Regions from separate parts of the Homo sapiens genome. Here regions 1, 2, 4 and 5 are each linked to region 3. Evidence: promoter capture Hi-C in 16 types of primary human blood cells and fetal thymus (Javierre and others, 2016). All regions are on one chromosome and are shown on one strand. Each heading gives the region's core, a stretch centred on a gene start or on the middle of the fragment in contact. The rest is flanking DNA. Distances are from core to core; before and after follow the strand shown.

Region 1 (5,296 bases), core at 1,643-4,142, 560 kb after region 3:
AAACCAAGGTCCAGAGAACTAAGTGAACTTTTCAAGGTCACACAGCTGTTAGGGACAGAGCCAGAGCTAGAGCTCAGCCTTGTTGAGCCCCATCGGGCCTGTTGTTATTATATCATCCAGCTCCATGGCTGTTAATTTGACACACCCAAAATCCTATTTTCACAGGTAAAGAGAATTTCAAAGAGGTGAATATAATTTTCCCAAGGTCTTCGGTCATCGTGACTCCATAGCTCTATCAAAAACAGTGTTTGCCACCTTGGGTTATGGCCTTTACTTTGAGAAAATTTAAAATTCAGAAACTTTAATTTTAAGAACAGAGAGGTGATTATTCTCATTAGAAAGGACTTTGATGCACATTTTTATGCAAGAGGTGAATTCTTCTTTCAAATGTCTTTGAAATATGGGCAGATTTTTTAAACTTCCATCTACATCTAGCTTGTTAGGAACAAAGCAACTGTATAAAATCAGGCACAGCCCAAGCCATGTCCTGTCCTGTCAAGTGTCACAAGGGTACTTTCAACATTCCCAAGCCAAAAAATAAACCAATCAAAGATAACACACCAAGACTGGAAATAAATGAAAAACCCCAACAACAAACAAACAAAAAAAGTCAACCATTTCATAACGTGGTATCTTTTTAAAAAAACATATTCGTTTAAAAAAAGTTGTTAAATTAAAATGTTAAGATAACCATGCCTTATAATTTAATTTTGTTGTCTCTCAAAGCAGCATAACTATAGTGGTCTTTTGTGCCATTCATTTTCTGGGCTTTTCCATGCAAAAGTATGTTGCAGCTTTGTCCAGTGCCTTTTTCAAGCATCTTGTGACATTTCCATCCCCCTACCTAACAGGGTGGTCGGATTTCTTTGCTGTTAAGAGGATTACTGAGACGTTCCCCTTTATATAACTCAGAAGACTCCGTAAATAACAAGAAAGAGCAAACAAGAGATGTCAAGGAGAGAGGTTACAAGCAAGGGCTGCATTTCAGAGAAGCTGGCTAAGCAAAAAGAGGTCAAAGAACTTTCTTAATTGACACTGATAAAGCTGGGGATTGAGAAGCAGTGTCCTGGGCGCCATTTTCATGGGCAAGCAGAGGGGTTAGCTTACATTCATCCATCAAGTGTTAAGCTTTAAACCCAAGAACTTCGGGTGAGTCAGGGCCAATGACCGGTAAAGGAATGAGACACCTTATCTCTAATCAACCCTGCCTCAAAATAGCTCTCTTCCTTTGGGCAGAGACTCCCAGCACACTATAGTTCAGGGAAGTGCCTGAGCCACACTTAGTCAGAAAGTCAATGAGTACGCTTTGTGTACAAAGTTAAGTTAGACCTCTCTGCGTGGAGCAAGGCATAATTTAACAACCCTCACTATGGCTTGCATCAAATCAAGATGTTCCAGCCAGGAAGGAACTTACAGTTTACCTGGACCAGCTCCTCATTTTACAGATGAATAAACTGAGACCCAGGGAGATGGATGATTTGCAAAAGAACACCAAGGGAGTCAGTGGCTGGGCTGAGGGCTGAAACCCTGCGCTAGAGCAGACATTCTCTTTCTCTTGGCAATTCTGCTATACTCATCTGAAAAATGAATGAAACACTCATGCCCCTGGTCAATTTTCCTTCCGTTGTTAAGGAAATCATTGCCAATGCTCCAATAGTTTCTAAGTCAACACATTCACAGGCAGTTTTTGTTAAACCCTTTCATTGTGAGTCTCCCAAACTTCCTCTTCTATCTTCATACTTCAGAGAGCTTTACTTTTGAGGTTCACTGTGTGGGCTGCCACTGTTGTTCCTTTCTCCACTGCTGGGAGAATGTTACAAATGGGTAATTGAAGTACTTGGGGTGTTGCTCTTAGGATGGGGTCAGACAAAAATTGACACCAGCCTCATCAGCTGTTCACCCCTAACAAGGGTTGTGACTCACAGCTCAGGGACTGCTGTTTCAGAAATGATCTGTGACATGGCACAGCTCAAACATTCCTGCCTCGATGCTTCCTACACCGCCATTTGCATACTGTGTCCCCTTTGTGCGTCCGCCACACAGTATGGGCTCTGTCCAGAGCTATCAGAGGCACATGAGGTCTAAATAGGAGTGGGGGAAAGCCTGGAGCTTGCAAAAGACTGCTGAAAACTGGGCAAAATAATAAGGATTTAGGACATGGACAGACAAAGTTCTGGAATGTGCTGTTAGAAAAATGCCTGGCCCTATCTAACTTGAAGGAGTTTTGTGTCATGTTATTACTATCCAAGACTTTGTGTCAGAGACTGAAGAGAAATAAAGCACTAAGGGACAGGACATTCAATTTTGACACCCCTTCGTTTCTCCATGATTGTCATTTCTTAAATGTTCCACTTATTTCCTCCATGAGTCAACTGGGCTGGACTTATTGCAGCTCTCAGGTGGAAACTGGTCCTAGTTGTTCTTCATGCATGAGATTTATCTCTTCTAGCTAGACTCCAAGTTACTCTATAAAAGTCTCAGGGCTTTATAATTCCCGCAAGGTTTCCTACTGAGGGCTGGACATACAGGAGGTGCTTAATAAGTGTTAAATAACCATGTCCTGCTTGGTCAGCATCACAGTTTTAAACTCACTTCATGCTAAAGTCAGGTCATGCTATTCAGGTGCTCATTGCATTCATGAGAAGGCACAAGGGCAAAGAAGAATGATCGCCCGAGGTTTATACCCAGTGAATGACAGAGCCAAGCCTCAATCCCAGGTCTTCTGAAATCAAATCCAGTTCTCACTAACTCTTCTGTCTATCATAGGATGGATAAAGAAAATAGGCTAAAGGCATTTAGGTTAAAGCTGGTGAAAAGTGAAATCGTTCATTGCTGGGGGTGGAGGGTGGGGCAGGTCTTAAAATTTTTAAAGGACAATTTAACTGTTATATCCTCAGCTTACTACATAAGTTACACAAAGACTTCCATACATTTATGTAATTGTAACAGTGTTTAACTTTTTTCTTGCAAGAGTTCCATCATAATCAATTGGTTTAGCAGAATAAAAATTGGTTTCTTTTTAGCTGAAGAACTAAAAATAGGAGGCAAATTAATATTCAGCAAATGAGATGAATCTCTATGAGGTATGGCTTTATTGTTCTGATGAACACCAACTCAATGTGGTGTTCGAAATGTCTCAGTAACACCCATATTCATGTTCAAAGATGATGTCACCAAGGAACATCCACAGGCATTCACTGAGTGCACAGCACGGTTCTGGATGGCTTTCCAGAACCATCAGCTAGCTATAGGACCTTAGGTACATACTAAAGGACCCAACGTTTTTTTAACACCAACCATGTTCCAGAAACCTTGAAAAACACTTTGCATGTTATTACATTTAACCCTTGTGACAACTTTATGATTTAAAATGAGGACCCTTAGCAGAGAGTAGTCATTAATTTACTCAAAATGACATGGCCAATAAATGGCAAAGCTGGGAGCTGTATCAGATATTAGTGACTCCAAAGCCCATATTTTTCCCACTATACCAGAGCTTCTCAATCCTAATTCATATTAGTATCACCCAAGGAGCTTTCATATTGTAATGATGCCTGGGTCTCACCTCAGACCAATTACATCAGAATATCTGAGGATCTATCCTGGATGTTTTTTTCTGGATGTCTTTTCATCACCCTAAGTGATTATACTATGCAACCAGAGTTAACAACCACTGAACTGGGTGTGCTGAGACTCAGTGCCTTCAACTGTAAAGTAGATGGAGATCTCTACTTTCTACTTCTGTAGTCACCAGAAGGCTAATTACCCTGGGGCCAATAGCTGCCTGAGAAGCCCCAATCTGCACCTAGAGTAAGCAGTTGTCACCCATACTGTCAGATATTCTCCCAACTTTCTACTTAAGTGTGGGCTATGAGTACAGCTGTTTAAACTTCCAGGAATGGGACTCTAAGATATACAATTATTTCATATATTCATATATATGTGAACCCCAAATATCTGAGACAGATCTCAGTTAATTTAGAAAGTTTATTTTGCCAAGGTTGAGGATGCATGCCCATGACACAGCCTCAGGAGGTCCTGATGACATGTGTCCAAGTTGGTCAGAACACAGCTTGGTTTTATACATTTTAGGAAGACATGAGACGTCAATCAATATATATAAGCTGTACATTGGTTCTGTCTGGAAAGGCGGCACAACTTGAAGCTGGGAGGGAGCTTCCAGGTCACAGATACTTGAGAGACAAACGGTTCATTCTTGTGAGTTTCTGATTAGCCTTTCCAAAGGAGGCAATCAGATATGCATTTATCTCAGTGAGCAGAGGGGTGACTTTGAATAGAATGGGAAGCAGGTTTGCCCTAAGCAGTTCCCAGCTTGATTATTCCCTTAGTGATTTGGGGGCCCGAAGATTTATTTTCCTTTCATATATATATATATATATATATATATATATTTTTTTTTTTTTAAATCAGAACAAGGCCCTAAAACTCTAGAAAGATTCCCATGCCATTATTTTCTCTGTCTTTCTTTCCAGATATCAATCATAGCTATTTTGGTGAAATCCCTATTGCTCCAAACTATTTTAGTGCTGCCTCTCTGCCATCATGACAACAAAGGTCTTTTGAAAAATGTTCATAACCTTTGACCCAGAATTCTTTTAAGGAGGTAAACCAAAAGCAAGGAAAAAAAAGAACAAAAAAAGCTTTGGGAAGAAAGATGTTCACTGCAGTATTATTTATTATAGTGGAAAACTGGAGAAAACTCTTATGTGTAACAGTAGAAAAACAATTTAATAAAATATGAGGTAGCTTACTAAATGGAAAAATGCTTATTGCAAATGGTTTTTACATAGAGAGTTAACATGGAAAAATATTAATATTAATTCATGTTAAAATGCTGAATGAATGCAGGTACAAAATTACATAGTGATCTATGAGTTACATTACATAGTGTCATATCAACTATGTACGTCTTTTTATACACAGAAAAAAGAAGAAAAAATTATATTATTCCAAGGTTAAAATACCTAAAATTTAGAATATTTAGAATTGGGTTAAAGTACCTGAAATTGTTTCCACTATCAACCCAATTCTATATGTTTGAAGAACAGCATGTGAAGGTGGTTATGGAGCAGGCCCTGTCCAGAGAAATTTTATATCCGGCCCTGGGACCTCTAGGCCTGTATACACAGATAGAGGACTTATAAACAGCAGAGTTGAAACATGAGTGAATCTGAAAGAGCCAGTCCCTCAAGATGAATCCTGAGTGGCTACATAAATTTAATATAGAGCCAAACGGCCATTTACTGACTAGAGATTACACACTACTCTGAGTTCC
Region 2 (5,787 bases), core at 505-3,004, 510 kb after region 3:
TGCACTGCGAGGTGGCTGCACAGACATTGTGGCCTGTGTTTAACAGGTGGGAAAAACTGAGGGTTGGAGATGGGGAGAGACTCCTCCAGACTGCTCTATATGGTTGATTGGTGTGGCTCCTTGCCCAGTGCCCACATCTCCTTTGATATCTATTTTGCAGATTTGCCCTGAGAAGTGCAAAATCAACACAGAAATATCTCTTCCATCAGTACCTGTGCATCAGGGCAGAAACTGTAATTCTTGTCATTCTTGCCCTTGCTATGATGTTTGGCATCTGATGAAACAGTGCCTCACAAAGTCCAGCTGCAATTCTTGCCAGGGCTGAAGCGAGTTCCTCTCCTGGTGTCAGAGGACAGCTTGCTTATTGTTGTAAATTTTTTATTTTCTCATCAGAGGCTCCCAGCTGTCTCTCCAAATCTGAATACAAGAAGTCAAATGTGAGAGCAGCCAGGTGGAGTTATTAGCATTGCGGCAGACCTTCTCATCTCAGCAGCTGCATCAGTTATTCTCGTGTGTTGGCTTGAGATGCCCTGCACCAAACCATGGGCCCTTTACTCAATCGACCCCATGATTCGGAAGGCCCCGGCATCTCGGCAGGCAAATGACGTGATGAGGAAGGAGTCATGGAAGGGCATTGAGCCAGCACCTTACACAGCAGCTTCAGTTTCCACTGTCAGTGCGTGATATGTGAATGAAAATCCCTGCGTAGTCATTAATGCATAATGCCTCAGTCACTGCCTCAAAAATCAATCTTTTACTGCCTCAACGAGGAAAAAAAACAATCCCACTGCTCTCCCAGGCCCTGTAGTGTGAGTCTATCATGGCCACTTGGGCATCACTTGGGCTCAGCTCCCTGACATGACAGAGTGTAATAGCTTCATAAAAAAGCAAGAGTGGTGGTTTTTTCAAACACCATTTGCTGTGTTTGAACAAATGTGCTTCATCACAGCTCCGCCTGCCTGTGGGCTGCTCTGTAGCTGACAGATAGCCCCAGCCTAAGGAAGCTAAGGTAAAGATACATGAAGTTCACCTTCCTGCACACTCAAAATATTCAAATCTTCTCTAACCACAGCCACAGGGCTCGTGCCAAATAGGTGTGCCCCTTCCTTGAATTTGTATGTGTGAATATTTCAAGCAGTGATGGCCCTGTATACCTTCTAAGGAAAAATATGTCTCTCAAATCAGCTGTTGTTGTTACTTTTTGCCCTTGTGGTTTCCCGGCATGACCCCAGGCACCTGTTAGTAGCTGTTGTGCTCCAAGACCACAACCTCCTAAACAAAGGTATTTATATTTCAAAGGGGATGAGGCCTTATTCAGTTCCTTCCTTCCCCACCTCCTTTAAGAAAATTCCAGCATTTGGGCTGGGCGTGGTAGCTCACTCCGGTAGTCCCAGCACTTTGGGAGGCCGAGATGGGTGGATCTCTTGAGGACAGGAGTTCGAGACCAGCCTGGCCAACATGATGAAACCCCATCTCTACTAAAAACACAAAAATTAACTGGGCATGATGGTACATGCCTGTAGTCCTAGCTACTCAAGAGGCTGAGGCAGGAGAATTGCTTGAACCCAGGAGGCAGAGGTTGTAGTGAGCCAAGATCTTGCCATGCACTCCAGCCTGGGAGACAGAGTGAGACTCCATCTCAAAAAAGAAAAAAAGAAAAGAAAATTCCAGTGTTTGACTAGCGTGCACTGTGATAGCCTGTCAGGGAGAAATATTTGGCCAGAGGTGTAAGTGGCTGCTGTGCACTGTTGTGTTAAAATGACGGTGACTCTAGGAGTCAGGACACTGTGTAGGACATCACTGAGCATCATGTCTGGTACTTTCTCTCAGCCTCCTTTGGGAATCACCTGCATCAGTGGTTCTCAACCAGGGGTAGTTCAGGAGACATTGTCAATGACTGGGGATACTGCCAGTGTTTTTGATATCATAACTTGGGAGGAAGAGGAGGAGGAGGAGTGCTACTGGCATCCATTGGGGAGAGGCCAAGGATGCTGCTCAACATCCAGCAGGGCACAGGACAGCCCCCCACAACCAAGAATTATCCAGCCCAAATGTCAATGGTGCCAACGTTCAGAATCACTGGCTACATTGACTAAGTCACTGCCACTTTCGCACTACAGTCTGTTCCAATAATCTGTGGTAGAGATACACATCTGGATAGGAAAATTGTCATCCTTCTTCAATTCATTTAAATTTCATAAAAATGTATTGGATGTCTAACCTGTGTAAGGGCCATGGGAATGATGACAGAGAGCGTCTCGGCCTTCCAGAAACTTAAGTCCAGTGACAGAGACAGACAAGTGCGTACCAACCATGCAATGCCATATCAGGAGCGGGTGGCGAGTGCTGTCACAGCATACAAGGGGCTGGGAACCTGAGAAGCAGAGATGACCTCCAGCCGGCCCAGAGGGCAGGCAGGCTATGCAAAGTTTTCAGAAAAAAATAGATGTGAGCTGTGGGGGCTGCAGGGATGAGGAAACCTCACACAGGTGAAGCAGGACGGGGAGCTCTGAAGACTCAGGGAAGAATGTGAGCAAAGGCAGAGATGCTGCCTGGTGGGATGGTGGGAAAGGAAGTAAGGGGCTGACTTCTGTGGCTTGCCCTAGGCCGCCTGGTGCACTAGGGTGGAGGAGGCTGACTTTCTTCCTTTTGTTACATTTACTATTTTGGAATAGTGGGCCACATATTTACATTTCAGACTTTTATAGTCTCTTCCTTTGTTTGCTACGGTCACATTAATATTCAGTAGAGAATCTTGCCATTTTTATGCAGTATTTAGTGGAGAAGAGACTTTTCACCTAAAAGTAAATTACAAGTTTCTCCTGCAGAGAGTGGTAGCTCATGCCTGTAATCCCAACACTTTGGGAGGCTGAGGTGAGAGGACTGTTTGAGACCAGGGATTTGGGACCACTGGCAATATAGTGAGACCCCATCTCCACAAAAAATAAAACAATTAGCCTGGTGTGGTGGCGCACGCCTGTTGTCTCAGCTACTCCGGAGGCTAAGGTGGGAGAATCGCCTGAGGTGGGAGCATTGCCTGAGCCCAGGAGGTCGAGGGTGCAGTGAGCCATGATTGTGCCACTGCACTCCAGTCTGGGTGACAGAGCAAGACCCTGTTTCAAAAAAAAAGATTTCTCCTGAGGCCAGAACTAAATAAGCTGCTGTATTTGGTTCAGTCGTTAGTAATTCACATGAATCACAATTTGGTTTTAGAAAAACTCATTTTTAGTGCATATATTTGAAAATATCTCAGAATCATGGATTCCAGAGACGGAAGAGATCTTGAGAAATGCTCAGGTTCAGTTTTGTCTGGTCCAACCAGATAAGCTATTTTCGTCATCATTTCACAGATGAGACAATTAAACATCTGCACATTTTAGACAGAAAATAAGCCTACGTTAAGTGGCAGGATTTTTAAACCTGATGCATTTGCTAAGTGGTGCAGTACTCGAGATTTGGAGGTGAGAGAGTAACTATTGTCCAGACTCAATTGCCCAGAGATCAAGGAGGTAGACTTGGGGGTAGAGGGATACAGGCTTAAAGGGCAGTAGGAAGCCACCCAAGCTCAAGATTTATTGGAGGGCAGATTCTCATCTCTATACTGATTGAGTGACCCCAGCCAGTGAGATCTCCTGGAAGCAGATGTGGGGAACAGTTGTGATTGTTGTAAGTCAGAGGACAAAGTTCATCTGGAGAGAGCATCTGTCCAGGGAATCTCTGGAGACTGGAGCCACTGTAGGAAATTCGGGATTTCAACAGAGAAAAAGCTTCCCTTGGGTGTGGGCAGGCAGGGGATATCCCTGGGGATCTTGACCGTAAGTGACCACCAAGATGTGCTCCAACCCAGACTTCCCTGACTCTGGGCAGCCTGTGGACTCTCCTACCCTGGCTCAGAATCTCCGCCTTGGTTACAGTTCGAACTGAGATGACCTCTTGTTTCCCATCAAAAATGCACCCTTTTCCTCTCAACATCCCCAGTATGGGGCTCACTGCCACATCATTTGCCCCACTCCAGGGCAGGGCCCACCCGGGAAAAAGCCCTGGTTTTCTTTCTGAAGACCACCCTAGTTTATAATAGCAAATAAATATGGATTATTTTTCTCAGTACAAGTTCCTGGGTATGGGACTCAGAGAGTTGCTTTTGTCAGCTCATGAGATGGAGAAGGAAACAGTGTGGGGAAATCCCAAACCCTTGGCTACCCCATTTCCTAAAGTGAACTTTACCCCTGGCATCATTAAGTGACTTTAACAGCCTTGTACTTGCAAAGTGAACTAAAAAGGCAAATGTATAAAAATCAGGTCCTTTTGGGGGGATCACAGAAATGCTTTATGAGATCCTTTTACAGCTGCCAGTAATCATTTACTCACGTTTTGCTCAACACAGGGGAGGTCCTCTTCTGCTCAAAAGAAAGGCAACTTCCTATAAAACAGACTTGCGTAGAATCCTTGGCAGGGAGAAGAAAGCAGTGAGATCACTTCTAGGCATGGCTTCTGGGGACTGCTGATTTCCTTGACGATAATGCCAGTCAGGCCCATAGCAGTGCCTGGCAGCTGCTTCCCTCCCACACCAAAGAAGCCCAGGCCTCCTTAGGTTTACAGGCCCCTGGCCATGGGCTCTCTGTAGGAAGTTGGTTGTGTATTTGTTCTGGAAGTGAGCCCTTGGGGCCAATGCACCAGGCTATCACTGGTAATGTCTTCTTTGGAGCAAATTCAGGTAAACGACTCTGCTACATGTGGCCTTGTTAAAACAGACAGTTCTGCTCAGCACATTTCCCTGGACATTCTAACACTCGTCGTTACACAGGAGTGAGTAACCAAAGGCAAAAGGCATCCATGTTAGCACTTAAGGTCTGTTTCCACTTTGGGTTCCAGTCCCATGGCCTGTGTCCTTTTCCTCAGAAACTGTGGTCTCACGGGGTACCCTCTTCCTCAAGCTGATCCTGGCAAACAGATGTGGTGCCAACTCTGACCATTGCTCCTTGGAGTTGGAGGTACAGATTACTTGTCAGAATCTTGTGATGTCCTGAGTGGTCTGGGATGCCCCTGCTCAGAACTACCATTTCCTGAATGTTGACTCTTGCAAGGTGTTTACATATGTCATCTGACTTAGTCCTCGCAAGGATCCTGTGCTCATTTCACAAGAAAAAGTCTCCCTCTACCCAGGCAGTGTTCCCCCACATCTGGGCCAAGGAGCCTTACCCGAGGGTAAAACAAAGCTGAGGGGCAAGCAACCACACACCCCATGTTTGGTCTCAAGCACTGGCTGTTTCCTTACAAGTTTAATGTTTTTTAGGAAGATGCTACTTGAGGCCAGGAACAGTAGCTCATGCCTGTAATTCCAGCACTTTGGGAGGCCAAGGCAGGCAAATCAGTTGAGGCCAAGAGTTAGAGACCAGCCTGGCCAACATGGCAAAACCTCATCTCTACTAAAAATACAAAAATTAGCCGGGCGTGGTGGTGCACACCTGTAATCCCAGCTACCTGGGCAGCTGAAGCATAAGAATCAGTTGAACCTGGGAGGTGGAGGTTGCGGCGAGCTGAGATCACACCACTGCACTTCAGCCTGGGTGAGAGAGAGAGAGAGAGAGAGAGAAGAGAAGAGAGAAGAGAGAGGAGAGAGAGAGAGAAGAGAGAAGAGAGAGTAGAGAGAGAGAGAGAGATGACAGAGGAAAGAGAAAGAAGAGAGAAGAGACAGGACAGGAGAGAGAGAAGAGAGAGGAGAGAGAGAGAGGAGAGAGAGAGGAGTGAGAGAGACAGGAGTGAGAGAGAGAGGAGAGAGAGAGAAGA
Region 3 (6,030 bases), core at 448-2,947:
GTGTTCTAATTCCACCCTCAAAATCTGCTTCTGTAGCCGTGTCAGAATGATCATTGTCTCTACTTCAGTTAGTTAATAATTCTTCCTAGCATCAATGTTCCTTTCCCCCAAAATGTTTATTAATATATATATCTCAAATTAATGCTTATTAAAACCAACACACACAAATGATCTTTAAGAAGACATATAAAAATATAACATGTAGTACGTACTTTCACTTGAAAAACATACTTACTTGTGCTTGAGAACAAATTTCACATTCTTGTATGCAAAGGCTACCAAATATGTGCTTACTAGGGTCATCACACTATACAAAACAGCAGACTGAATAAGATCCATATGCCATATTCGCCAGTATAACCCTGAATTAAAATAAAAGGGGGAAGGGTACAAAAAGAAGCAAAACATTACAACCCCGCAACAAAAGCCTGCGAAATTAATTATAGCTAAGCCTGGTAAAATACCAGGTTATTAGTTATGCAATCCAATAGTATCTGAGGATCTTCAGAAGCGAGATAACCAGTAACAGTATAGTCTCAAGCTTTCCAGTTCAGAACATTTGAAAAACATCACCTTCCTATTACTAGTCCAGATGAGATTTCAACTTCTAAAATGAGAACAAACTCTGGCTCAACGTAATCACAAGTCAGACTTCAAATTTCATTCATCAGGGTACTAGCATGCGAAACACAGGCCATTCCAAAATGCCACGTGCAGCCCCAAACCATAGTTTCCTTGCTGACGTGGCTGTTATCAGAACTCCAAGCAGTGCTATGTCCAATTAGTGAGCCATCATATGGCTTCACATCACGTTAATGGCACGCTGGGTTGTATAAGGACAAAAGAGAAAAATACATTTAGTTTTAAATGCCCAACAACAGTGCAGCAAAAGACAGGAGTTCTGGAAACTTGAGCTCTACTAAAAACGACCTTGTCCAAGTCTGCAGTTTCCCAACCAAGTGAGAATTCTAGAATTGGTCCAGTAGGATTATTAAAAAGTATAAATAAGGTAGATCCCTAACCCCTGGCACTTCAACCTCTCTCTTTTTGCAAAAACCAGGAAAATTATGCAATGGTGTGAAGTAGCTCACGTAAAGATGCACTTATAATTCAGTGGGTCACTTCATGGGTTTCTCACCTAACTAATTTATGCAAAATAAGTAATAAGTTTAAAATTTCGTAACGGCAAGCAACAGTTGTATAGAAAAGGGCAGAGGCAGTATGCTTGAGTTTGTCTGTTTAAATAGAGATTCGGGGCCGCCACCCCAGAACTAGTTAACCACCTTCTCCTGGGGTGGAGCTCGGGAACGTGCGTACTTTTAACAAGTGACCTCCCCGAGTGCTGCACAGGACAATCCCAAGCGACAACACTGTGCCCAAAGAAGAGGCTCCGTGCCTCCCCGAGCTCAGGGGAGCTGGAGAGATTGCCGACCCCCGGCCGGCACCCACGCCTTCCCTGCTCGCCGGGTCCTGCCACGTCCCCGCCCAGCCCGACTAGCCGGCGGCCTGCCTAACCCGCCTCGCTCCCAGCACTCACAGATGGGGATGGCAGACACGATGAACGCGTTTCCGAAGAAGAGCGCGGAGGACTTGGCCGAGAGATTGCGGCTGAAATCCTGCAGGAGCAGGTCCTCCTCAGACTGCTGTTTGGAGCTGCCTTTAGGAGCCATGGCGGAGCTGCAGGCGAGAACAGGGAACGTAGAGCCGGCCGCCAAGGCGGGCAAAGGCCCTTGACTCCGCCCCTGCGGCCGCCGTATCCGCTAACGACCCGTCAGCGCGGCGCGCGGAGGCGGGACCCGGTTTGGCGAAGAGCAAGCGTCCCCAGGATTGGCCAGCTTGGCGCCACTAGATAGGCTTCCGGGCGTGATTGGGCGAGCGGGCCAGACTTCCGGATTCCTGACAAGCCACGTGACCCACCCACCTGGAGGAGAGAGAAGGGATTTGTAGTTTAGTCGGTGCTTTAAAAAAAATTAACAAAACTTTATTGATATTCCACTTCAGAGCTGCTGACAGACTCACGAGTTCTCAGTTCTTCAGAATTCCAAAATTAAAAGCTCTTCTGGCCCCACGCCATTAGTGCCCTCTGTGCGTACCCAGGACTGAGTACGTTGAAGAAGAAAGAAGAGAAAGGTATAGCTAACTCATGTAAAATCCCTTCTCCTTTACACATCCTTTATTTCATTAAATACCTTGAAGAATCTTATGACGTGCGCATCATTACCGCCATTGCAGCTGAAGAGCCTGAGGGTCGTAGACCTGCGGTGTGGGTCTCCAAGGCGTGGGCTCTTTTCACTAAACAATAGGCCACCTCTGTAGGAAGAAGAAAATGGGACTCTTGCTTTTAAGAAACTCATGATCTCATTGATGAAGGCAATATTTAATATATGTCTGATACAAGTTACTACTATTTTATTTTATTTCAACTAGACCTATAGAGTTTTGTGGCTTCCAAAGCCATGCTAAATAAAACATAATACTAAGAACAGGTTGGCTAGGCAAGACTCCCTCTCTGAAGCTCAGAAGGATTAAGTATGTCTATTAAAACAGCTAGATTCCATTTTTAACTCAACACATTATCATTTTTTCTTCAAAAAAAAATTCAACCACATCACTCCCAGCAAATGCTACTTTTGATTACTGAGAACACTCTAGTGCATTAGGCACAATTTCCTCAACCTCCAGCCTCCTTATTAACCGTTTGGTAGATATCTTTCTTCCTCACAGTATCCAAATTGTAATCTACCTCCACAGCTTCCTATTACTAGTCCTAATTGGGCTTTTGTCTTCAATCTTTTCCAGTCTATTCTCTATACAGGTACCAGAGTGAGTTTTCCTGAAATATAAATCCTTCCATTATCTACCGCAAGTGTTCCTTAATGCCAGAAGTTTTCATTAATTCACCACAAAATGAAAAAGAAAAAAAGACCATCTAGTGAATTTTTCAGAAAATCAAAAGTATTCATTTAAAAATATCTGGGTTTATGTCTTTTTTGATGTTAAAAATGCTCTTTATTTTATTACATGGTAGTGATAGAAGAAGAAATTATTATTTTCTCTTACACATACTCCTCCCCCAGTTTTTCCTATCTCACTAAGTTGCATTCTTTTAAACTCATTTGTTGTTCTGGTTAAAATAGTGGGTTTCAACACTAATTATTTTTTTCCTTCTCCATCTATGACCAATTCATAAATAAAACTTTTTGGATCTGTCTCTATAACTAGATTTTCTTCTGCCTATTTATAAACAAACTAAGGATATAAAAAGAAGATAAAAGATAAAAATCAGAGGCTGGGTGCGGTGGCTTATGCCTGTAATCCCAGCACTTTGGGAGACCAAGGTGGGTGGATCACAAGGTCAAGAGACCGAGACCATCCTGGCCAACATGGTGAAACCTCGCTTTTACTAAAAATACAAAAATTAGCCAGGCATGGTGGCGCACGCCTGTAGTCCCCAGCTACTCAGGAGGCTGAGGCAGGAGAATCACTTAAACCCGGGAGGCAGAGGTTGCAGTGAGTCAAGATCGCGCCACTACACTCCAACTCCAGCCTGGCAACAGAGCAAGACTCCATCAAAAAAAAAAAAAAAAAAAAATCAGAAAACTAAAAGATCCAAAGAGACAACAATCATCTTTCTTTTAAAAGAAGAAAAGAAGAAATGATAAGGATGAGATTTAAAAAAATTATGCCTGAGAAAAATATTTTAACAATTAAAATAGGAAAGATAAAAGTTTGAAATGTTTAGTGGATATAAATGTTACAATTGATATAATCAAAAAAAGCTAGCAGAAAAAAATTAATACATTTTGTAAAGCTAAAGGTAACTATAAACAGAAGATAATCTAAAATATGAATTTCAAATTATTTTGTGGGGGTAAATTAGAGAAATATGATAGGGAATGATACTTATGATAGAATATTTTTGGTAATGGCAACAATTACAATTATGAAGGTGGCACACTTGGAGTACTGAAGCAGTGTTTTCTTGCACCAGAGCTACCTAGTTCCCTTTAAAAAGCAAGCAGCAAGACCTAAGGATCACTTGTATGTGGCATATATAGCCGTGGCACACATAGCCGTGGCACACTGGACAACCAGGGTACACAATGTGCTAAAAAACAGAAGGAGAGGTGGGTAGTAAATTCTACCCAAGCAAAGATCTACAATATATTTTGCCCATTTCAACATAGCTTAACTCTGAAGGAACCAAATGGACTTGATTCCATAGCAGTCTGAGTCTATTCTATGAATTTCAGGCTTTCTTGTATATTTTCTATTATATCACTTGATTCTTTTCAGATTGGAGGAAAAACCCCAAGCAATAATATTTTTTGCTGTCAGGTATATGGATAAGAGATTACTGATGACTTTGTGAAAGAAAATCTGGTATGCTAAAAATTAACATATTTTTCTGTGTCAGACACTGCAAGTTGCCTAGCCAATATAGAAAGCCACTGCTAGCTTTTCACTGGGACCTTTAAAGAATAACAAATGGATCATCCAGGGCTACTGTGGGGAGGAAAAAAGAAAAGCTCCTCTGTTTTAAAGCCTACTTGAAATGCAAATCTCATGATGGGAATAATTTTAAAAGAGGTGGAACACTTATATTAGTCCCTAAGTATAATGTTTTAAAGTATCACCTGAAAAATTATTTACTCAGCCAAACTACATATTTCACCCACTGATATTTGACTAATTCATTAGTTCATGTACTCATTCAGCAAATATTTATTGAGAAGCTACTACATGAAAAGTACTGTGCAAAACCTGTGAAAGTATCCAAATAATAATCATGATTATTTTGATTATAATAACTAACATGAATTGAGTCCTTGTTGTATGTCTACCTCTGTGCTTTGTCCTTCACACGTATTGTCTGATTCATCCCTACAGCAACCCTAGGAGGTATATGTTTCTGTTATCCCCTTTGTCAGATGAAGAAATTGAGACTCAGATTAGTGAAATAACTCATTTAGATTCCACAACCAGTAAATGGTGGAGTCAAGTTATGAACCCAAGCAATATGATTCCAGGATGTATGCTCTTAACTACAAATGAATTCTGGTCTCCTCCATGCAGTGGAATCTCTGATTCTGCATGACTGCTCACAAAAGCCCTACACTGAGCAAGCAGCCAAAAGTAGTTTCTTATCTACCAATTATCAGGCACAGTCCTGTCACACTGCAGCTCTCCCTAGTGTATTTTTGGACAGAGAGGATAATAGGCAAACCTTGGTGAGCAGGCCTTGGCTCTCCATACCTGATTCTCTGTCTCAGGGAGTTTGAAAATGAAACCCCAGAAAAAAACAAAACAAAACAAAACAAAACAAAACAGTTAATAGATGTATACAGAACAAGGGAAGCAAACTGAGAAGAGGTGGAAAGCACAAATCATAACTCCCCAGCAGCTGTAAATTAGAAAAGGGATAATTAGAGAGATGCTCCAAGTGCCTTAGGGCTTCCCTATTTCTCTCTGTAGACCTGATAGAAACCCCCATTACCTACAATAAAGCTAAAATACTTGTTCAAAAAATAAAAGTTAAACAGATCTGGAGTCTTGTAAATAAATAATATAAACAACTTCTGCATATAAATGAACATCTAGATGAATAACTGTACTCAATTTGTTAATTTATGTATCACTCCACCCAAAAGGTTTAAGGCAAAGGTAACAAGATCAAAATGTCTATAAGATTCAAGTAAATAACTTCAGGGAGTGAATTGTGCCAGGCATAGGACATGAGGTAGTGGTAGGCTCAATACAACTGGAAAGCTCACCTTTCCAAAAGCACTCAAACTGAAATAGATTAAACAGAAAGAAAACTAGAATCAACAGCAAATATTCTGTAGGCCAAACTCAACAGATTTGGGGTTTAATCTGCCCCATAAATTCCCAGGTTTAAGGAGACAGACTCAAATGCAAATAATATAAAAAAAGTGAAGTGTAATTTAAAAAAATAAAATCTTACCATTTCAGAAGAAACTGTGTTTTTTGGAGAGAATGCTGGAAGTTGGCCCTTATAGTTGGTTAGGC
Region 4 (5,559 bases), core at 451-2,950, 550 kb after region 3:
TCCAGTGGGACCTCACCTGGCACCCCTTGAGCTGGCACCCACCTTTTCACATTTCACAGAGCATTTCTACTGACCTTTCCAAAGGGCACTGCACCTCACTGCTCCCAAATCTCTGAAAGTCAAAACGGAGGCTTTGCTCCTGCATCACTGTCTGGACCATACAAATCACCTCTTGTGACTTTGGCAACTGCTGGTCTCAGGGTTTGTATCCTAGTCATTTCTACTTCTTGGAGAATCATTTATGACATTCTAAAAGTATAGAAAACCATCTACTGAAATGTGTCAACATTAAAACATTAGTTAGCTAGAAATGATGCTCATTTAAGTTACAGAAAAAAACAACAGACAGGAAAAGACATGAGCATTTATGGGCCAGCCTCTGTACTAGCATCTCTCACACTCATGATCTCTTGTTATATTCACTGCAATACAATTTGGGAAATGGTATCATTCCCACTTTGACAGCTGAGGAAATGGACACTCAGAGAGGCTAAGTAACGGCTAAAGTCACACAATTAATAAGCAGCAAATCTAGGATGTGAATCCACGTCTGACTTCAGGGTATTTTGCAATATACCACAGTTTATGGCCTGTGGAATTCAAATGGAATTAAGAGATGACCAGTAAACATAGTTTCATTGCCAGTAAAATTCTTGACTTTGCTTTTTTATTAATTCATATTTACTAACAATGCAATTTCCAAATTACCAGCTTCGGAAGAGTTCTTAAATCATTGAAGTACTCAGGATTCATGGAGTCCTAACAATTAGGATTTGACACTGAGAGAGATGCCACCAGAGGACCCACGTGGAGCTGAGTGACTCTAATGTGAACTTTCTTTTTTGACAGTTCTCTGTAAAAATGTGGCCTATCTTGCACTGGATGGAAGACAAGGAAGAGATTCTCAGTCAAACCTGCCTGGTTTCCTCAAACTCTGTTTAATACAAATGCCAAAGTTTGACACATTCTAACCACTTTGCTTTCTTTGGCAACTCCAACTTTGACAAGAGAGTAAGAATGTCTCCTCCTTGACAGGAACAACGTGTGAAATGAAAGACCTCAGGTGCTGTATTGGCTCTTGACAGCTCTTCAGAAGAAAATACCTCCTGCCTGTTCTGTTCAGTCCTGGTGCAGGTGAGTCACTGCCTTGCCAGCCAGGCAAGTATTTTAAGAAACAAAATCTAAGCCAGAACCAGCAGAGAAATACGAGGGATGGATTAGCGCCATTAGCTTTGATGGTGTCTTGTTGTCATGGTGCTAGGAAAATCACTATCATTTACAGTCCCACTCACCAGCTGTTTTGCTAGAATTTTTGACATGAGAGGCTGGTGGCCACCCTAACACAGGCGTGGGACATGGGTGTGCACACACACGTACACCTGCAGCAGACACCCACTCTAGAGGGCTCACGTTGGTTGTCTGGGACGTGATTCAAAGGCTGTACCCATGTGTATGACAATCCTGTTTCCCGTACATCAGCTTCCAGGAAGCCAAATGACCCACCGGCTTACCCACATCGCAGGAAGCTTTGGAGCAGAGTCAGTGACTATGTGAACCTGCCTCAACCTCTGCTCCCTGGTTCAGCATTTGGCTTGGGAAAAATGACACTATTTCCTGTCTCTTAAACATTATTTCAAGGCACAGGTCTTCCACCATTCTGAGAGGCAGGGGGATCTTTGAGTTCTGCCAGGAGCTGGGGGTTAGGGGTAGGGGAATCCCGCCCAAGGGAAATGACTAGAATCTTTGTCAGGCTGTGGAACACAGGCATTTCTGGATAGGTGGCCTCCCCTGTGGCCTCTCCTGGCATCTACACTGCAAAGTCCCCTGTATCTACTGAAAGGGGTGAGGGTGGGGGCATTCATTGGTACTGGGAGGCAAGCTTTGAGTGGAAAGGAGCTTCTCTCGTGGCCCTCCAGTGAGCCACACTAGAGGAGGCCTCAGATGCATGGTGCTCCCTGCTCAGACTCACACTTGCCTGACTCCCTCCTTCGTGCTCTTCCTTCGGCTGCCCTTACCTGGGGGACTACAGTGGCTGTGGGGGTGCAGCGGGGGTTGGGGGGGGCGGCATACCTCACTACCTGGCTTTTCCCAAGTCCCTTTAATTAAGCCAAATCTTTGTATGAATGTAAAATACAAGTAGGCTTTATCCCTGGGCCCTGTGCTCCTCTGCCCCAGATTCTGACTCAAGGGCTTGGAGCAGACTTATTTTTACTAAAAGCCCAAGTGATTCGATTGCAGGTGGTCCTGGACAACACTTTGAAAAATGCTGGGGCAGAAACAAGCCAGCAAGCATATGGGATTCATCTGCTGTGAGTGATAATTTATCTAGTTTCTAAAAATAGTGTTATAGGCTGGACTGTGTCCCCTTCCTGTGCCCCGCCGCCATGCATATATGGACGCCTAGTACCTCAGAATGTGACTGTATTTGGAAACAGGGCCTTTGAAGAAGTAATTAAGTTAAAATGAGGTCATTAGGGTGGGCAGTAATACAGTATAACTGGTGTCCTTATAAGAAGAGATTAGGACACAGATGCACACAGAGGGAAGACCATATGAACACAGAGGGAGAAGACAGCCACCTGCAAGCCACAGAGAGAGCCCTTCAAAGAAACCAACCCTGCAGACAATTTGATCTCAGGTTTCTGGCCTCCAGAATTGTGAGAAAATAAATTTCTGTTGTTTAAGTCACCCAGTCTGTGGTATTTTGTTATGGCGGCGAAGCTAACGAACACAAACAGAAGGCTGATTTCACTTAATAATCATCTCAGAAGGCAGAGATTGCTTCAAACTATTGCATAAACAAGGCTGGTTTGTGAACCAAAGGACATGAGCCCCAAACCTGGAGTCGCAGAGGCAGCATGACAGCACAGACAGCACAGCTTCTGGTGTCAGGCATTCCTGCACTCAAAGTCTCAAAGAACCTTCCTCCCTAGCCTTCCACCTGAGTTACTTTAGACAAGGCAGCTGTTATTTTATTTAACAAATATATGTATACAGTGCTTACTATGTGCCAGATAATAGTCTATGCACTGTACAAATACTAAGTAATCTAATCCTCATTATAACCCTGTGATAGATACACTGAAGAGCCACAGTCCCTTATTCAAACCCTTGTTTGGAACCAGCAGTGCTTGGCATGTCAGAACTTGGGGATTTGAGAAAGATATACAGTATATGTACCATAGGCTTTATAACACCTCATGGCATCTGCAACAGCATCCTGTTATGAAACATACTAATGGTTCTAGTTTCTGTAGTGACACATATATATGTTGCATAAGTAAAGACTGTAAGTATCCTTGCGTCAACTCAAGATACAAGGATACTTTTAGTCAATGTGCTTGTTTCAGGTCAGGTTTTGCTGCCAAATGAATTATAAATCCATTTTTTCATATTTTGGAGCTTTTAACGTTTCAAAATTGTGGGCCTGTGTTATCCCCATCTTACAGATGAAGAAACTGAGGCACAAGGAGGTTAAACAACTTACCCACATTCATTAGCTCATGGGAGGTGGGACTGGGCCACCAACCCCCCGGGTTTTGCAGCCTTGCCGTGAGGACCCAATACAAGGTAGACTTCTGGGTTGAATTTTGTCCTCCAGAATTCATATGTTGAGGTCTTAACCTTAGTACCTCAGAATAGAACCTTATATGGAAATAGAGTCATTTGAAATATAATTAGTTAAGATGAAGTCATTAGGGTGGACCCTAATCCCAAGTGACTGGTGTCCTTATAACAAGGAGAAATTTGGGCGCAGAGGCAGGCATGCACACAGGGAGAGCACCATGTGAAGATGAAGGCGGAGCTCAGGGTGACACTTCTACAAGCTCAACAATACCAAAGGTTGTTAGCAAACTGCTAGAAGCTGGGAGGGAGGGGCATGGAACAGATCCTTCCCTGCCAGCCCTCAGAAGGAGCCAACCCTGCCGACACCTTGATCTTGAATATGTGAGACAATACATTTCTGTTGTTTAAGCCACACAGTTTGCAGTGCTTTGTTACAGCAGCCCTGGCAAACCATTACATGATCCTTACCCAGTGCTGGATTCTGAGTGGGAGATCAATAAGTGGTAGCTAGTCATACTTACTATCAGTATGACTGAGGCCTCAGACTGTTCATTGAAACATAAAGTCAGTAAATTATTTCTAAGACCTCTTTCAAGTTCTGGGTCTAATTTTTTATGTTTATAACATGAAGATAATTCAACTTCACTTGTACCCCCAATGGCCTGGCTCTTATAGCATTTCTTTGCTGTTTTAAAAATGGGAGCCAACCCAAATGTCCATCAATGATAGAGTGTATAAAGAAAATGTGGCCCATATACACCATGGAATACTATACAGCCATAAAAAAGAATGAGTTCATGTTCTTTGCAGGGACATGGATGAAGCTGGAAACCATCATTCTCAACAAACTAACACAGGAACAGAAAACCAAACATCGCATGTTTTCACTCATAAGTGGGAGCTGAACCATGAGAACACATGGACACAGGGCAGGGAACATCACACACTGGGGCCTGTCAGGGGGTGGGGGACAAGGGGAGGGAGGGCATTAGGACCAGTACCTAATACGTGTGGGACTTACAATCTAGATGACGGGTTAATGGGTGCAGCAAACCACCATGGCACATGTATACCTATGTAACGAATCTGCACGTTCTGCACATGTATCCCAGAACTTAAAGTAAAATTTAAAAACAACAACAACAAAAAAAAGATGGGCTAAGCTGGACACAGTGGCACACACCTGTACTCCCAGCTACTTGGGAGGGTGAAGTGGAAGGATCCCTTCATCCCAGAAGTTTGAGACCAGCTTGGGCAACATAGCAAGACTCTGAACAATAGATGGGCTAATGTAAATGTGGTCTTAGAAAGCAAAACAACAAGCCAGGTTCAGTGGCACATACCTGTAGTCCCAGCTATTCAGGAGGCTGAGGCAAGAGGACTGCTTGAGCCTAGGAGCTCAAGGCTGCAGTGAGCTATGATCAAGCCACTGCACTCTAACCTGGGCAACAGAGCAGTACGCCATCTGTAAAGAAAAATGCAAAACAAAACAAAGAACATTAAAACCGAAACCATGTGGGCCCTAATTTGCCTGCTGATGTTTCTGCTTGCATTGTGAATTCACTCAGTCCTTGGCTTTTCTGAGTCTCTTCTGCTTGTGTCTTCAGGCCTGTGGAGTTAAAACCAGTGTGTTCAGGCTACAGATTCTGCAAAGGAAAGCAGAAATCTAAGTTAGAGGCTCTTTTCTGTGAGTTAAGAGTGTGTTGCTAGAACCCTATTTAGGCTTGGAACATTTTGATTCTTCATGTGGAAATTTGTCCCAAAATTGCCACTTCACTGAGGAGATAAAAGCTGCTTTAAGAGAGCAGCTTGAATACTTTTTCTGTTCATAGGACAAGGCATGGTTGGGCCCAGTCTAGGGAAAGAGGTAAAATGATAAAAAGTGTTTTTTTGAGATTTAGTGACAGGAATGCCCATTGTCAAGCTAGCTTGGAGCTTTAAGCCTCTGCCCTTAACACTCTACCACATCAATTCAGAAAAGGATTTGCTATG
Region 5 (5,811 bases), core at 1,483-3,982, 660 kb after region 3:
AAAACAAACAGCCCAAATAGAGAGCCCCAAGAATGCCTTGGCTTTTGCTTTTGTGATGCGGAAGGATCCAGAAATTCTTACATTCTGCTGTGGGATTGAAACCAGAGGCCTCCAACCAGGGATCTGGGAGCAACATGTGGGTAAGACACCCTCTGCCCCGCAAGCTCCCGCAAGCTCCCTGGTGCAAGCCTGCCAGGGGCTGTTGGAGGAAGAGGTGGAAGTAGAGCCAGAGGATTTGCAGAGCCAGCCTGAATGAAGGCGGGGCCAGTTAACAGGGGCAAGGACCTGTGAGACCCTTGCTTTACCCAAAAAGCTGACCACAGATGTCACTGGCAGGGTGTTACCAGGGAATATGTCTGAAGAGGCCAGCCCTGGGGTCAACTGTCTCCCTCAGCTGCCCCCGGAGACATGTAATCTCTGTTCTACACTCAGGTCCCTATTTTGTGAAGGAGCAGGGAGGAATGGGAGAAACAAATCTCCGAGGGCATTTGAACTTTGAACTGACTGCATATTGATCTGAAAAAGACTGTTTAAAGCGAGGTAACTGATTGACTCTTTTTTTTTTTTTTTTTTAGACGGAATCTTTCTCTGTTCACCCAGGCTGGAGTACAGTGGCATGATCTCGGTTCACTGCAGCCTCCACCTCCCAAGTTTGAGTGATTCTCCTGCCTCAGCCTCCCAAGTAGCTGGGATTACAGGCCGAGTAGCTGGGATTACAGGCGTGCACTACCACGCCTGGCTAATTTTTTGTAGAGACGTGTTTTGCCTTGTCCCGGATGGTCTCGAACTCCTGGCTTCAAGTGATCCTCCGACCTCAGTCTCCCAAAGTGCTAGGATTACAGGCTTGAACCACCACACCTGGCCGTTGACTCTTTTTTTTGAGACGGAGTCTCACTTTGTCACCCAGGCTGGAGTGTGGTGGCATGATTTTGGCTAACTGCAACTTCTGCCTCCTGGGTTGAAGCGATTCTCCCGCCTCAGGCTTCCAAGTAGCTGGGATTACAGGAGTGGTCTTGAACTCTTGACCTCAGGTGATCCACCCTCCTTGACCTCCCAAAGTGCTGGGATTACAGGCATGAGCCATTGCCCCTGGCTGGCCACTGACACTTAACCAGCAAATTCATACCTTTCCTATCCCACTCCATCCTGCCACCTCTAAAAGTGGGAATGGAGCTTTTGAGGAAGTTTATATCATTTATAGAAAGGCACAATGCTGGCTGGGCGTGGTGGCTCATACCTGTAATCCCAGCACTTTGGGAGGCCAAGGCAGGCAGATCATGAGGTCACGAGTTTGAGACCAGCCTCACCAACATGGTGAAACTCTGTCTCTACCAAAAATGCAAAAATTAGCTGGGTGTGGTGGCATGCACCTGTAATCCCAGCTACTTGGGAGGCTGAGGTAGGAGAATCGCTTGAACTTGGGAGGCAGAGGTTGCAGTGAGCCGAGATCACTCCATTGCACTCCAGCTTGGGCAACAGAGCAAGACTCTGTATCAAAAAAAAAAAAAAAAAAAAAAAAAAAAAAAAAAAGGCACAATGCTGCCATCTTTTTGGTGCATATAAACTGCAGCATGTCATTAAACAAATCCTGCTATGAGTATTTTCAGGCGTCCTTCTCCCCACAGTGCCTGTGTGGGTAGAGGGTGAGACTTGGGTTGTGGGGAGGAGGCTACAAGAGAGAGAAAGAGAATTTGAGGGAGATGAAGAGGGAGAGAGGGATTGACTTGGAGAGGGGAATGAGAGGAGGAAACACAAGGAGGGACTCAGAGCCTACTAGAGTAAAGGAGTTTGCCGGGAGGACTGAGCTTTTGGGGAAAGGAGAGGAATTGGAGAGGATTCTAAGGAAGCCTTGCTCTGTGATGTGTCCTGTGATCCCCTGCTGATCTCATCGAGACACCTTCTGTGAAGAAATGTGTTCAATTCCACTCCCTGGAGTCTGCTCTCCTGTTTCCATTCTGAGGCTTCAGTGTGCTAGGATTGGCTTTGGGGCCCGGGCACCTTGGGGTCACGCACTTTTCATACAGCGGTCACCCAGGCGAGAGCTGAACAGATTCCCCTTATTGTGGAGACTGTCTTTTGTCTATGCCTTTATGTTGAAATATATGGCGTCCTATCCTGTTTTGTCCCATTGGAGAGCTGTCTGTCCCTGATCTGCATAACAGCCATATTAAATGGAAGTTTACTATGAAATCGGCTTCCAGGCTTTCTTAGGTGGAATAGCTGCAGTTTCTTTATTCTTTTGCACAAGTTGCTGTAGGCTTTCCTTCTTTGAGTTCTTTAATCATCTTTAAGCTTCCTGGGATTTGCCAGGTATGTTTTCAGCTAATTAGCCTAGAGTAGGATTAGCAAACATCCCAAACAGTGCTTGGCTCATGTGTTTATGAGTCATGCTGTATCTCTTTTAACTACTTTACATTTATTTCTTCAAACTATTTGTTTAATTAAATAAAATGTCAAATTTTAGTTATAATGGGCTCAATGATTTCACCTGTCTGCTAAGTTATTTGGGCTTCTTCAGACTTGGATCTCACTGCCTTTTGTAACAACATTGGCTTTCGTATGACATAGAGGACATTGGTATCATATATATATGTATATATATGTGTATATATATGTGTATGTATGTATATATATGTGTATATATGTATATATGTGTATATATGTATATATGTGTATATATGTATATATGTGTATATATGTATATATGTGTATATATGTGTGTGTATATATATATATATTTTTTTTTTCTTGAGACAGGATCTCACTCTGTTGCCCAGGATGGAGTGCAGTGGTGCAATCATAGCTCGCTGCAGTCTCGAACTCCTGGGTTCCAGAGATCCTCCCAAAGTACTGGGATGATAAACTTGAGCCATGGCATCTGGCCCTTATGATTTTTTTTTTTGATAGTCTATTTTCAAGGTAAAACACTTAGTGAATATTTAGAAGTTTAGATTGTTAAAAAAATTAGTGTGTGTTTACTTAAAACGAGAGAACTTTAAGTCTATCATAAATGTCTATTTTGGTTGATTATGGGTCTAGTGAGGCATAACACACAAAAATGTTGAACATTCCATTTAACCATGTGGGAAAACTGGGAATTCTGAAGGATTAAATTTTGGTAGAAGACAATGGGAAAATTCCATATAACTAAGAGGAGATGAGAAGAAGTATATAAGCTTATAATTTTCTGGAAAAAAAGTAAAAAGGACTTTTTTTTTTTTTTAAATTCTGGGTAGAAAGGTAGGGGAAACAGTTTCAGAATTTCTAAAATATATTGCTTTTATGCCTTGAATTTTATGGTCCACTTTAAGGCTTGAAAATAGTATTTACAAAAACTGATTTGATTATTTATACCAAGGGCATCTTTCATAATCAAAGGCTACCTGGAGATAAACTCTATGATATTTGACAATAGTATAAAACACTTCAATACTCATGATCTCAGGCACAACCTGTAGATGTATTTAAAGGGATTTCTTGATGCTATATTGATTTTTTTTGGACAAATAAAAGCTATTTTGACACATCAAGTACATTAATTTATTTTGACCAAAAGGATAGAAAGTAAAGCCATGCCTAAGAATGTGTTAGAAGTACAAAATATTATAAAAATTTGAGCTAATTATTTAGATAATTCAAATATTAAAGTTTGAATTATTCATTAGAGGTAAAGTGAATTTCTGTTGAATCCTTTATTGAATTGACTTTGTTCTCTTAATGGAGAATTAGCCTCAAAACTAGGAAGTGATAAGTAGCCGGGGGCGGTGGCTCACGCCTGTAATCCCAGCACTTTGGGAGGCCAAGGTGGGTGGATCACAAGGTCAGGAGTTCGAGACCAGCCTAGCCAATATGGTGAAACCCCGTCTCTACTAAAAATACAAAAATTAGCCGAGTGCCGTAGTGTGTGCCTGTAGTCTCAGCTACTCGGGAGGCTGAGGCAGAAGAATCGCTTGAACCTGGGAGTGGAGGTTGCAGTGAGCCGAGATCGTGCCACTGCACTCCAGCCTGGGCGACAGAGCAAGACTCCGTCTCAAAAAAAAAAAAACCTAGGAAGTGATAAGATTGGAAATAATGTGCTTGGTTTTTTTTTTTTTTTTTTTTTTTTTTGGGTTGGGTGTATCATTTTATTTATTTTTGTTTTTATTCTTATTTTTATTTTTATTCTTATTTTTTTTTGAGACAGAGTTTCTTTCTTGTTGCCCAGCTAGAGTGCAATGGCACAATCTCTGCTCACCGCAACCTCCACCTCCCAGGTTCAAGCGATTCTCCTGCCTCAGCCTCCCGAGTAGCTGGGATACAGACATATGCCACCACACCCAGCTAATTTTGTATTTTTAGTAGAGACGGGGTTTCTCCATGTTGGTCAGGCTGGTCTTGAACTCCCGACCTCAGGTGATCTGCCTGCCTCGGCCTCCCAACATGCTGGGATTACAGGCGTGAGCCACCATGCTCAGCAGTGTGCGTCATTTTAGTAGCAAATTATTTATTTGATGCTTAGGTACCTAGCCATTAGAAAATGTGTTCATTCCCGCTTTGTTTAGTTTAATATTTTGGACTTTTGCCTTATTTTCTTTCATTACTTCTTTTGTTTTCATCAGTTTTCTTGTTTAAAATGGAAACAGAATGCTCTAGAATAAGCTTAGTTCTCAAGTTTGTCCACTTATTTTCTGACTGTCAGTGATCTCATTAATCATAATATAATCCTTGGTAAGCGAGGACTAGAGATATGCATTGTGAAAGAAAACAAAAAGAGGAGGGCACAGAAGGAAGATGGGGTGGATTCAGTCTCCACTGCCACTGTGGTTATATCAGACTCAGAAAGTAAACATGCCTGTGCTCAGATCACGCACATCTAGTGGCATACATTTGTCAACACCCAACACCACAAAATCATTAAAAATCAAATCAAAAAGGATAAATTATCATTCTGAACAATATGACACAGGTACAGTTTAGTCCTCTTCCTTCTTCTGATATCTAGTTGTGTCTTTCCATCACTGTAGGCAGACCGAAGTGACATCACATTTGAGGTGCAATCAATATAATTAATCACCTTGGAGGTGAGACATATTGGTTCTCAAGAACTGGGTCTGACGTCAAAGGAGAGCAATCTTGCAAGTGCAGAAGAAAGGAGTATCAAACAGTGCACCTATCTTGGGGACCTCGACCTTCCAATAAATCACATCATAGCACACCTACCATGACAATATTTCACATTTTCAAAACAATTTTGGTGTAAGTATCTTGTGCATTTTTTTAAATTTTTTTTGAGACAGAGTCTTCTCCATCACACAGACTGGAGTGCAATGGCATGATCTTGCCTCACTGCAACTTCCAACTCCCGGGTTCTGGTGATTCTTCTGCTCAGCCTCCCAAGTAGCTGGGATTACAGGTGCCCACCACCATGCCCGGCTGATTTTTGTATTTTTAGTAGAGACGGGGTTTCACCATGTTGGTCAGGCTGGTTTCGAACTCCTGACCTCGTGATCCACCCACCTTGGCCTCCCAAAGTGCTGGGATTACAGGCATGAGCAATCGTGTCCGACCATCTTGGGTATTTTTAAAGAAATAGCACTGCTATTATAACTTTGTTTTCATGTAAGTGGAAATAGTGGATTTCCATGGGATGAAAGCAACGGGGCAATGCCTCTAGCATTGTTTAGTGCTAGATGAGGCTGGTAGTTGGTAAGAAGTATAAAAATCAAGGAGAGACCGGGCGCAGTGGCTCACGCCTGTAATCCCAGCACTTTGGGAGGCCGAGGCGGGCAGATCACGAGGTCAGGAGATCGAGACTATCCTGGCTAACACGGG

What was found. The method cuts DNA at HindIII sites, captures the fragments that hold promoters and counts their contacts. A CHiCAGO score of 5 or more calls a contact.
Region 1: a contact is called between a fragment that was not itself captured here and the fragment with the promoter of SSR3 in region 3, in 15 of 17 cell types (naive CD4 T cells, fetal thymus, total CD8 T cells and 12 more). The highest score is 14.8, in naive CD4 T cells.
Region 2: a contact is called between a fragment that was not itself captured here and the fragment with the promoter of SSR3 in region 3, in 14 of 17 cell types (total B cells, non-activated CD4 T cells, total CD8 T cells and 11 more). The highest score is 15.6, in total B cells.
Region 4: a fragment that was not itself captured here is called in contact with the fragment with the promoter of SSR3 in region 3 in 10 of 17 cell types (non-activated CD4 T cells, total CD8 T cells, total CD4 T cells and 7 more); the score reaches 9.5 in non-activated CD4 T cells.
Region 5: a contact is called between a fragment that was not itself captured here and the fragment with the promoter of SSR3 in region 3, in 3 of 17 cell types (activated CD4 T cells, non-activated CD4 T cells and naive CD4 T cells). The highest score is 8.0, in activated CD4 T cells.

Annotation. Positions count from the first base shown.
Region 1 is chr3:157,114,249-157,119,544 of GRCh38, forward strand. All of the region lies in intron 1 of LINC00880 (long intergenic non-protein coding RNA 880), which reads right to left. Among named protein-coding and RNA genes, the nearest start is that of LINC00880, 6.1 kb to the right of the region's middle. The HindIII fragment of the contact is 3,533 bases long and covers 1,127-4,659 here.
Region 2 is chr3:157,066,226-157,072,012 of GRCh38, forward strand. No RefSeq gene overlaps it. Among named protein-coding and RNA genes, the nearest start is that of LINC02029, 13 kb to the right of the region's middle. The HindIII fragment of the contact is 4,022 bases long and covers 1-3,765 here.
Region 3 is chr3:156,553,420-156,559,449 of GRCh38, forward strand. SSR3 (signal sequence receptor subunit 3) reads right to left here and starts at 1,698. Exons shown (of 5, transcript NM_007107.5): 1 at 1,538-1,698; 2 at 236-362. The coding sequence starts at 1,670. RefSeq lists an enhancer at 1,557-1,636. The HindIII fragment of the contact is 5,682 bases long and covers 540-6,030 here.
Region 4 is chr3:157,098,448-157,104,006 of GRCh38, forward strand. It overlaps LINC00880 (long intergenic non-protein coding RNA 880), which reads right to left. Exons shown (of 4, transcript NR_034007.1): 2 at 4,911-5,032; 3 at 3,488-3,645. It overlaps LINC00881 (long intergenic non-protein coding RNA 881), which reads left to right. Exons shown (of 3, transcript NR_034008.1): 2 at 1,036-1,134; 3 at 2,239-2,688. Among named protein-coding and RNA genes, the nearest start is that of LINC00881, 11 kb to the left of the region's middle. The HindIII fragment of the contact is 353 bases long and covers 1,525-1,877 here.
Region 5 is chr3:157,208,541-157,214,351 of GRCh38, forward strand. All of the region lies in intron 2 of LOC101928236 (a long non-coding RNA gene), which reads left to right. Among named protein-coding and RNA genes, the nearest start is that of CCNL1, 51 kb to the left of the region's middle. The HindIII fragment of the contact is 884 bases long and covers 2,291-3,174 here.